Linked DNA regions of Homo sapiens: region 1 is linked to region 2. The links are contacts of gene promoters, found by promoter capture Hi-C in human tissues and cell types (Jung and others, 2019). All regions are on one chromosome and are shown on one strand. The core of a region is centred on a gene start or on the middle of the fragment in contact, and the rest is flanking DNA. Distances in the headings are between cores, read along the strand shown. Region 1 has its middle 25 kb from the start of CTSO. Region 2 holds the start of GLRB (glycine receptor beta).

Evidence for each region. Contacts are between HindIII fragments. The study calls those that stand out against the background at their distance.
Region 1: a fragment that was not itself captured here is called in contact with the fragment with the promoter of GLRB in region 2 in 1 of the 25 tissues and cell types used here (lymphoblastoid cells).

The regions. Positions count from the first base shown.
Region 1 is chr4:155,976,514-155,982,030 of GRCh38, forward strand. No RefSeq gene overlaps it. Among named protein-coding and RNA genes, the nearest start is that of CTSO, 25 kb to the left of the region's middle. The HindIII fragment of the contact is 6,587 bases long and covers 1-4,761 here.
Region 2 is chr4:157,072,910-157,077,671 of GRCh38, forward strand. It overlaps GLRB (glycine receptor beta), which reads left to right and starts at 3,241. Exons shown (of 10, transcript NM_000824.5): 1 at 3,241-3,388. RefSeq lists a silencer at 348-642. The HindIII fragment of the contact is 3,601 bases long and covers 2,349-4,762 here.

The sequences.
Region 1 (5,517 bases), core at 218-2,717, 1.1 Mb before region 2:
TTCCCCTGCAGTGCCTCCCCTCTTCCTCTCACAACTTGTTGCCACCTCCCTCCAAAGCTCAAGCCGCTATTCCTTTATGCTTAGAAACTTCAATCCTCTGGTCCTTTGAGTCTCGTATTCTTCTGTGAGGTTCCTGTGTGCATGCATGTAACTAACATGTTTTTTCTCCTGCTAATCTGTTTATTGCTATTTTATTTCAGCAGACCTCATTATTCCTTCAGAGGGAAAGTTTAAACTTCCCTACACTAGAAGACAGAAAATCCTGTTTTGCAAATTAAAAACAATTTTAATTATGAAAATGATAAGCTTAAAGCCATTTTTAAGATATTTTTATAAACCTAATTTTATTTATGATATATACATGTTTTATTCTAAATAAAAATGGATTAAATATTAATAAATGATCAGAGTGTTTCATAATTCAGGAGGCTTTGTTCAAAAGTCACATCATTATCTATGGCTATGTGAATTTTACCACCTTTTAAATGCAGTTTTAAAGAAGATACTTAGCTTCTTTTTCTTTGGTCAATTTTATCCCTAGTAACAAATGGTTAATTCCTTTTTTTGTTGTTGTTTTTTTTTTTTGAGACAGGGTCTTCCTCTATTGCCCAGGCTGGAGTGCAGTGGCCTGATCTCGGCTCACTGCAACCTCCTTCTCCCGGATTCAAGCGGTTCTCCTGCCTCAGCCTCCTGAGTAGCTGAGATTACAGGTGCCCACCACCAAGCCTGGCTAATTTTTGTGTTTTTAGTAGAGACGGTTTCGTCATGTTGGCCAGGTGGCTCTCAAACTCCTCACTTCAGGTGATCTGCCTGCCTGGGCCTGCCAAAATGCTGGAATTACAGGTGCAAGCCACTGCGCCTGGCCGACAATTAAAAATTTTAATCACCAAATAATCATGAACTAAGTTCTTCATTAATTCAGCTCTTATTATAGAAAGATATAAAACAAATTTTCAGAGCTTGTGTTGAGCACCAGAATTCCCAAGTCAGAGGCTGTCAGCTAGGAGCAAGATGCTTCCTAGTGTAACCGTTCAATGGGTTCACCTTGCCCGCTGCCTTGACAGAGCCGATTTATCAAGACAGGGGAAATGCAATGGAGAGAGAGTAATTCACACAGAACCAGCTGTGCGGGAGACCGGAGGAGTTTTATTAGTACTCAAATTAGTCTCCCTGAGCATTCAGGGATCAGAGTTTTTCAAGATAATTTGGGGAGAAGAAGCTCGGGAAGTGGGGTGGGGAGTGCTGATTGGTGGATTGAAGATGGAATCACAGTGGGGTCAAAGTGAAGTTTTCTTGCTGTCTTCTGTTCCGTGGGTGGGATTACAGAACTGGTTGAACCAGATTACCAGTCTGGGTAGCATCAGCTGATCCATCGAGTCCAGGATATGCAAAATATCTCAAGCACTGATTTCAGGTTTTACAACAGTGATGTTATCCCCAGGAATAATTTTTGGGAGGTTCAGACTCTTGCAGCCAAAGGCTGCATGACCCCTAAACCATAATTTCTAATCTTGTAGTTAATTTGTTATTCCTGCAAAGGCAGACTGGTCCCCAGGCAAGAAGGTGGTCTTTTTGGGAAAGAGCTATTATCAGTTTTGTTTCAGAGTCAAATCGTAAACTAAATTCCTTTCCAAGGTTAGTTTAGCCTACACCCAAGAATGAACAAGGATAGCTTAAGGTTAGAAGCAAGATGGAGTTGGTTAAGTCTGATCTCGTTCACTGTCACAATTTTCTGTTATAATTTTTGTGAAGGTGGTTTCACCAGGGGCTTTTTAGATAAATGGGCGTGTGCTTGTGTTGCTGCTTCAGTGATGGGGAACTCAAGTGGCACTTATGTAGCAATGGCCACAGGTATAAAATAGCCTGAATAACCTGAAATAATCTCATATAACACATCAACTTGTCTTAAATTTAAAAAGCAGACATACCATGAAAAGATGTAGAAAACAGTCCGTTTGTAAATGGAAATGTAAACTAGACAAGATATATTGGGCAAGTCACTTGTTTTCTAATACTAAATAGTAACATCACTCTTCCTTTCAGAGTTCATAAAAGCATTTTGCAACCATTAAAGTTCTATACAAACTTTATTTATTAAAGAACATGTGGTTGGGCGTGGTGGCTCACACCTATAATCCCAGCACTTTGGGAGGCCAAGGCTGGTGGATCACGAGGTTGGGAGATGGAGACCATCCTGGTTAATATGGTGAAACCCCATCTCCAGCCTGGACAACAGAGTGAGACTCTAGCTCAAAAAAAAAAAAAAAAAGTGTTATTTGAAAAATATATCCAGGCTCACAAATTGAATCAGATAATGGTATTTGAACAAAATTCATGTGGTGATTTACTTAGTTTCATGAAGTCTTTAGAACCTAATTTCTGTACTCTTTAAATTTTGTAAGACTTAAGTGAAATATATTTAATTTTGTTATATAGCAAATAATATATGGATGGGAGAGGAGAAAGGAAGAAACCTGTCCGGTAGGCAGTTAGGGTGGGTCCTCAGTTAGATTCTTTCAAACAAAAGAACACCCTGTGGCACAGATAAGGGAAATTGCACAGGCGTCTTCCCTAAGACATGCCCACAGCCACACAGATAAAAAAGTCGGCCAGGCGCTGACTTTCATTTGATTTCATTTTTGACCCTATGATCATTCAGGAGCAGGTAATTTAGTTTCCATATATTTGCATGTTTTTGAAGGTTCCTTTCGGAGGTGATTTCCAGTTTTATTCCACTGTGGTCTGAGGAGTGCTTGAAATAATTTCAATATTCTTAAGTTTATTGAAGCTCGTTTTGTGGCCTATCATATGGTCTATCTTGGAGAAAGTTCTATGTGCTGTTGAATAGAATGTGTATTCTGTGGTTGTTGGATAGAACATTCTGTATATAACTGTTAAGTCCATTTGTTCCAAGATATAGTTTAAATGCGTTGTTTCTTTGTTGACTTTCTGTCTTGATGATGTGTCTAGTGCTGTCAGTGGAGTATGGAAGTTCCCCACTATTATTGTGTTGCTGTCTATCTCATTTCTTAGGTCTATTAGTAATTGTTTTATAAATTTGGGAGTTCTAGTGTTAGGTGCATTTATGCTTACCGTTGTGATATTTTCCTGTTGGAAAAGGCCTTTTATCATTATATAATGTCCCTTTTTGTCTTTTTTAACTGCTGTTGCTTTAAAGTTTGTTTGGTCTGATATAAGAATAGCTACTCCTGTTCATTTTTGGTGTCCGTTTGTCTAAAATGTCTTTTTCCACCCCTTTACCTTAAGTCTGTGGGAGTCCTTCTGTGTTAGGTGAGTCTCTTGATTACTGAGGAAGATTTTTATTTGCTCTCCTTTGCTTATAAAGTACTACAATTAAGTGATACTATAGCTTTCTCCCTCTACACCCTGAACATCCCTCTTCCTGTGTTTTCTTCTGTGACTGCGTTTTTTCTGCTAGAGATAAGAATTCTTTTTATTATGTGGTAATGAGAAGGGGAGCTTAAAGCAACTGGGGCCCTTTCTGCTTAAAGTTCCAATTGAAAACAGATTTTCTTTCTTGTGTAGGACAAAAAATTTCCCATACAACTCTGGAAATTATTGTTTGACTTTTTTTCCACCTAATGAAGAATACATTACAGAAAACGTGAAAGATTCAGGTTTCTGCCTTCAGGATTGCACCATTGTGTGTGTGTGTGTGTGTGTGTGTGCACTTGTGTGTGTGCATGTGTGCCCTTGTGTGTGTATGCCTGTGTGCATCCATAATAGAATAAAGAACCTAATGGTGCATCCCACTACGCCATGTATACTATAAATGTTTTAAGAATGTGTTTTCCAAAAAATCATATATTTCATGTTTGATTCATTTGCATAACCTAATAAAAAGTAGTATCATTCCATACATTTCTTCAATTTCACGGTTTTCTTGTGATTTTGTGTACTTGTGTTTTCCTCATTTTTGCTTGATTAGATTGGCTGGTGGTTTTTCTGTTTGGGTTTTCTTTCTTTTTTTTTTTTTGTAGAATCGGAGTTAGATATATTCACCTATTTTCTGTTTTTGTTTTATTTTCAAACTCATTCATTACTACTTTTAACTTATAAATCGTTCTCTTCTTCTTTCTTTTGGTTAATGTTGTTTTTCTTTCCTTACTGTTTTATGGGGTTATTTTCCCTAAGAGCATCTTGCTTAGATTGGTTAGTTTATAGGGTCCAGACTCTTCCAAACTTTGTGAGTTTCCCTTGCACATCCCATAAGTGAAGACTAGTTGCAGATTTGGCTGTAGTTTTCAGATTAGCCAATTGAACTTTCCACGCTAAGTGGACACCCCTAAATTTGAGGATTGCTACCTATTTGTGATTTTTTCCCCCATAGGTCCTAGAACTCTTTGATGTGTATTGGCTGTTCCCCTACGTTTTTTCACATGGTTACTGATAACCAGTGGATCATTTTGTTTCCGGTGGCTTGACCGCATGCACATGTGTTTTGGAAGTCTTGGGCGATACGTTGTCATTTGTCTTTCCTACATGTATTTTTTCTGTGGGCTTTTTTCCTCCTCTCTTTTGCTGTATTTGTTTTTGTGGGAGAGTTAGGGACCTTCCAAAACCATGAAGCTGTCACCTTCTTCCTTCCTTTGCCTAATTTTTAAATGATCACAGGCTGCTCCAGCAACGATGCGTGTCAAGAATGTATGGGGAGACTGGAAGAACAGACATGAAGCTACTGCTATGGTGAGGTAAGAAATGATGGTGCCTTGGATACTTTGAAAGTGTGGACTGAGAAAGTCTCTCTTAAGGACTAAGTTTTTAGCTGGAACCAGAAGGATGAGGACACATAAGAGCCAGAAAAAGAGCCTTCCAGATAGTTGCAGGCACAAATGGTAGTGAGCTGGAGTCTGAGCAATAGACACTTGGTTCAGAGAGAGAACAGAGAAGAAAATGAGTCAGATCATGTCAACAGGATCCTAAGTCCTCTGGCAGCCGTCTCTAACCCTTTGAATGTGAGGACATTTTTGCTTATCTCTGGTGGCAGATATCACAAAAATTATGGACGGACCCTTTTTTGTTTTGTTTTTAGCTCATCAGCTGTCAGTGTTAGTGTTTGTAGACCAAGACAATTCTTTGAATGTGGCCCAGGTAAGCCAAAAGTTTGGACACCCCAGCAAGGTGATTGAAATGCACTCTGATGTCATTTCAGATCACAGCCTGTGGATCTATACAAGGAGACAATTGTAAAAGGAAGCACAATGAAAGAAGGGCCGAAACAGAGATAAAATGAACTCACTGTTCTACAAGATTGAAAAGAACAACCTAATTTGACTTTGACATTGGCATATATCTTTATAGCATTTATGCCTTGAAGGATGAGTAGGATATCAGTAGGTAATGAGTAAGGACATAAGAGCTTTCGACACTTTATATTCTGAGAATAGTTTTCAGGAAACGTTTACTATTGTATAGTGTATCAAAATATATTTAATAAACACTCTCTAAATAAGCAAGTAACCTCACCCCCAAAAAAGTAAATTTAAGGCATGTTAA
Region 2 (4,762 bases), core at 1,991-4,490:
CATGAAATTTGAAGAAATTAATAAATGAGGCCAAGATTTACACATTCATTCAACACTATTCTAGGTGTGTGGGCAACATCAATGGACAAAAATAGATACAAATCTCTGCCTTCATGAAGCCTACATTTTAGCAAGGAAACAGAGGCCACAAACTGTAAGTATATTGTATGATGAGTTGGGAGGTAATAAGTACTATGAAAACAAAAAGAAAAGCAGGCAAAGGGGGATTGGAAATCTTTGGATGGGAGATGGTTTGCACTTTTAAATAACATTGGATAAATCTCTGTGAGACGGTGACATCTGGGTTGATGTTGAAGATATGAGGGAGTCAGTCATGTGGTGGTCTGGGGGGAAAGCATTTTAGACAGAGGAGCCAATAACCTAAGATGGGACCATACCTGGCTTTGGCATGTTGGAGAAGCAGCAAGATCAGCAGGGCTGAAAGAGAGCGAGCCATTAGGAGAGAAGAAGTCAGAGTTAGGGGGAGGAGATGCATAACAATTGAAGGTTTGTAGACCATTGTAAACACTGGTTTATAAAATGGGGACTAACTGCTGGGTGTTGAGTTGAGGAATGACACAATATGACCTATGACATGTTTTAAAGGGATCACTCTGGCTACTGTTTTGAGATTACTCAAGGGTAGGAGAGGACAATGATAGAGGCAGGGTGAGTAGCTAAAGTGCTATTATAGTAATCTAACGTAGAGATGAAAGTCACTGAGTCTAGGTTGGCTGCAGTAAAAATCATAAGAAGTAGCTGAATTCCTGTTGTCATTTGAGAGTAAACAGGATTTCCTCAGAGATTTGGTTGTGAGGTGTGAGAAAAAGAGCGGAATCAAGAACAACTTCATGATTTTTAGCCTGACCAACCCTAAGGATGAGGTTGCCGTGAACTGAGAAGGAGAAGGCTGAATGTGGGGCAGATTTTAGGGAGAACCATAGCTCAGTTTGGGACACACTGAGTTTGACATGTTTATTAAATACGCAAGTTGAAATGTTGAAAAGGCAGTTAGATAGATGAGTCTGGAGTTCTGGAGAGATGTCTAGTCAGGAGAAGTACATATGGGAGCTATCAACATGGTGTTTAAAACCTTGTGACCAGATGAAATTACTAAAGGAGTGAATATTGATAGAAATAAATAGAGAAAAGTAGATCAACACTTGACAGAATTGGGGAAAATAGGTTATTTCATGACATTATTTAGAAGCATCCCTTTTCACACTATGATATAAAAGTTATAGAAATATAGGTAAGCAGATCACTTTCATAGAAAAAAATTTTCAGAATTCTGAACTTGACCATTTTACAGGCTAGAAGAAGTGCTTTTAGGGCATCAACTATATTTCTTAACCTTTGGGCCAAAACCCTACAAACCCATCCAACCTGCTGGACTTGCTTTTCTTCTGAATAACCTAATTCTCCAATATAACATCCATGGATGGCACAGAAACAATACTAGGGAAGGTGAGCAAGTCTGTTGTAGGTATTTTCAGCATAGTTCTTCCAAATGTGGACATTAGAGTTTGTAAATAAAAGATGTTCATTTTATTACAGGAATCGGAATTCCTATTATTCTAAACTCTTAATAATTTCTTGATTAATTGAAAACTAAGTGTAAGGTTTTCGCCAACTTCTAAACTCCCCTGGCTGCATGAAAACTAATTCCTTTATCATTCTTCATATGACCTATTCACCAAAAGTTATATCTTATGAAACGTATATTATCAATATAGTTCTCTCTAATAAAGCATTAAAATCCAAAGTTATATCCTGATCCACTTTGGCGGGGGGGTCTTCAAACAGTACAGCTCTTTGAATAATGATCATTTTGTAATGTAAATAAGGTAATGATCACTTATTAATGATCACTACTCTTAGGCAGCAGAATATCTCATGAAGCTTATGGAACACGGTTATATGCAGGAAATATTCCTTCCCTCCATATGCTGCGGGTGGAAAAATTTATTAGTGGATACATCTGTGGGTCCACAATACAATGCTAAGTGATGCTCACTTGAGACAATGCTTTTTTAATAAAAAAAATCCATCAGGACCTGGTGCAGTGGGGTGGGGTGGCTCAAGCCTGTAAGCCCCCCAGCTTGGGAGGCTAAGGCAGGCGGATGGCTTCAGGCCAGAGTTGGAGACCATCCTGGACAACAAAGCCAGAGATGCTGTCTCTTAAAAAATAATAATAATAATTAGTGGAGCGCAATGGCCTGTCTGTTGTTCCAGCTACTCTACTAGGGAGACCGAGACAAGAGGATCTCTTGATTGCCCAGAAGTTCAAGACTGCGGTGAGCGATGACTGTGCCTCTGCACTCCAGCCTGGGCAACAAAGTGAGCTCCTGTTGCTTAAAAAATAACAATTAAAAAAAATCAATCAGGCATACATTCAAGAGGTAATAGGATAGCCTTATCTGTTATCTAAGGGCTGCATATCCAAGTAAGGGCTACTTCTTCACAAGGATGAGGACAACAGTATTTTGCTCTTATAAGGCAGAGACCCTGTCTGGTTCAGATATGCAAAAATCACTAATTTTGAATCTCTGGTAAATTTCTTTCAAGATCTGTAACTCTAAGTAAATCTCTTAATATAACTGAGTTTCAGATTCTTCATCTACAGAAGGGGATGACAAAACTTGCCCAGGAATGTGGTGAGGGCCACATGAGATAAGGCGAGTGAAAGGTGTTTTGCAACTGTCAAGTTCTGTACACATGTTAATTATGTAACAGATGTTAAACATAGTATTACCTGTATGACTATATTGTCAGTAATTTTGACCAATTTAAGCTTGCTCAGAAAGTTCAGGCTTTTAGAAATTGGAAGACCCGGAGATTAAGCTGGATGTCTGGGTTCCAGGCAAATGGTGAAATGACAGAAAATGTGTTTTGTTCGCTTTGACCCAAGAAGGTCATTTGTTGCTCTGTTGTTTGTTGCTAGTGGTCAAAAGCTGACCCCAAGCAATCCCAGCTCCTTGAAAGGTTTTTTCTTTTTGTACCGACACTATCATTCCCGCCCTTCGTCCCCAACTCCTTTAGTCCCCTAAGGAGTGAGGGGGGTACACATTTCTGCTCGGTAACCCCTCCAATGCCTGAAGGGGACGATGCCGTGACGTTGCTCTGTCGGGACACCTCTTCCCTCCCCCGCCCGCGGTCGCCAGGTTCCCCCGCGGCCCGCGCTGTCCCCGCTGCGGCCCCGACCGCGGCGCGCCACGGCGCAGGCTCCGCGGCCCGAGCAGGCGCGTCAGCCGAGCTCGGCGGTGGCGCGGGCGGCTGGGACGCAGCTGCCCCCGCTCGGCGCCCGCTGCACCCTTAGCAGCCACTGCCACCTGGGCCCGGAGCCTCCACGATCTCGCCCGGCGATTGTGGGCAGGGGCGCCTCCGGGTAAGTGCCAGGAGCTCCACTTAGGAGGAGGGGACGCGGGTTGGGGCGGCGACGGTGGTCTGAGGACGGGAATAGACGCCTTTGCGGAAACAGCGGGTCAAGCCCGGGGCGGCGGAGCGCGAGGAGCACTGCGGCGTGCCCGGGAGGACGCGCGCTGCCCTGCGCGGGAGAGGGGCGCGGGGCGCCTGGCAGCGGCAGCCGGGTCCCCGCTGCGGTGGCGCCCGCGGAGACGCTCCGGGTGGAGAGATGCAGAGGGCCGGGGTAATTAGGAAACGCAAGGTTGGCCAGGAGGGCTCCTTGCGTTGTTTTGTTTATGAGGATCCTCCAGTCAATGCAGCTGTCCCCCTTGAAAGATTGGGGGTGAGGACAGAGCAGAGTGGTGAATTTCTCTGTTTTTCGAAGCGTTAGGGGGGCTCGGCCCTCCTTTTTGCGGGGGCAAGGATGTGAAAGTGGGAGAAGTACCTGCTGCTGTGGGCAAGGTGTCTGGAAGCAGGTGCCGCTGTCGGATGGGGGAAGGGAGCGTCCAATGTTGTGAAGTTGCCAGAGGAGAACCTTGTGTTGTTGCTGTTGGTCTGATGAGCCCCCTCTGTTGTCTTCAATTTAAAGTACCCAGGGAGAAGCCCCTCTGGCTTGCCTGGAGTGTGTGTAAAAGATAAATATGGGGGGAAGAATCCTGGGGGGGGGGGGGGAAGATGAAAAACATGACATAAGGAGAAGCAAATTTCTGAGGGTGAGATGGGAATTAAGTTAGCGTTGAAGAATATGACAGGTCTTTTACTCTGCGGAAAACAATGAAAGAGAAACAATTTATGGTTTGGAAATGAAGGTTGCAGAAGAGTTTGAACTTCTCTAGTGTAGGTAGAGGCTTAATTATTTTTTATTTATCAGAATCTCTGGCAAGAATATGGTTCTGATTTGAGCATGAAAATGTTATTAAAATATGGCTAGGACGATAATTTGAAAAAAATGTAACAACACTTGTTTTATTTCTTGTTGTAGAATTTCTGAAGTAATCTTTTTGATGACAAATGTTAGTAGCAAATAAGTAAGAAAGCTTTAAAGCTAACTTAAGAGGCACCTTTTTGGGGCAAAAAGGTAGCTTGCCAATGTAATGTGTTTAAATAAAAAAAGCAATGAATTTTGAATGTGGAACTCTTTGATATTAACTTTTTCTTTTATCTGTCTTTTTTAATACTTAGAATTTCTTTTTCTTTAAAATACATTATTTTTGAAAAAATATACATAAGAACTTCAAACAATATAAAAATTTAAAAAGAAAAAGATACTTCCAAAGTACTAGCCGAAGATAATCATTTTAACGCTGTGTTAAACCATGCTTCCAGATATCTTTCTGAACATATTTTTGATATACTG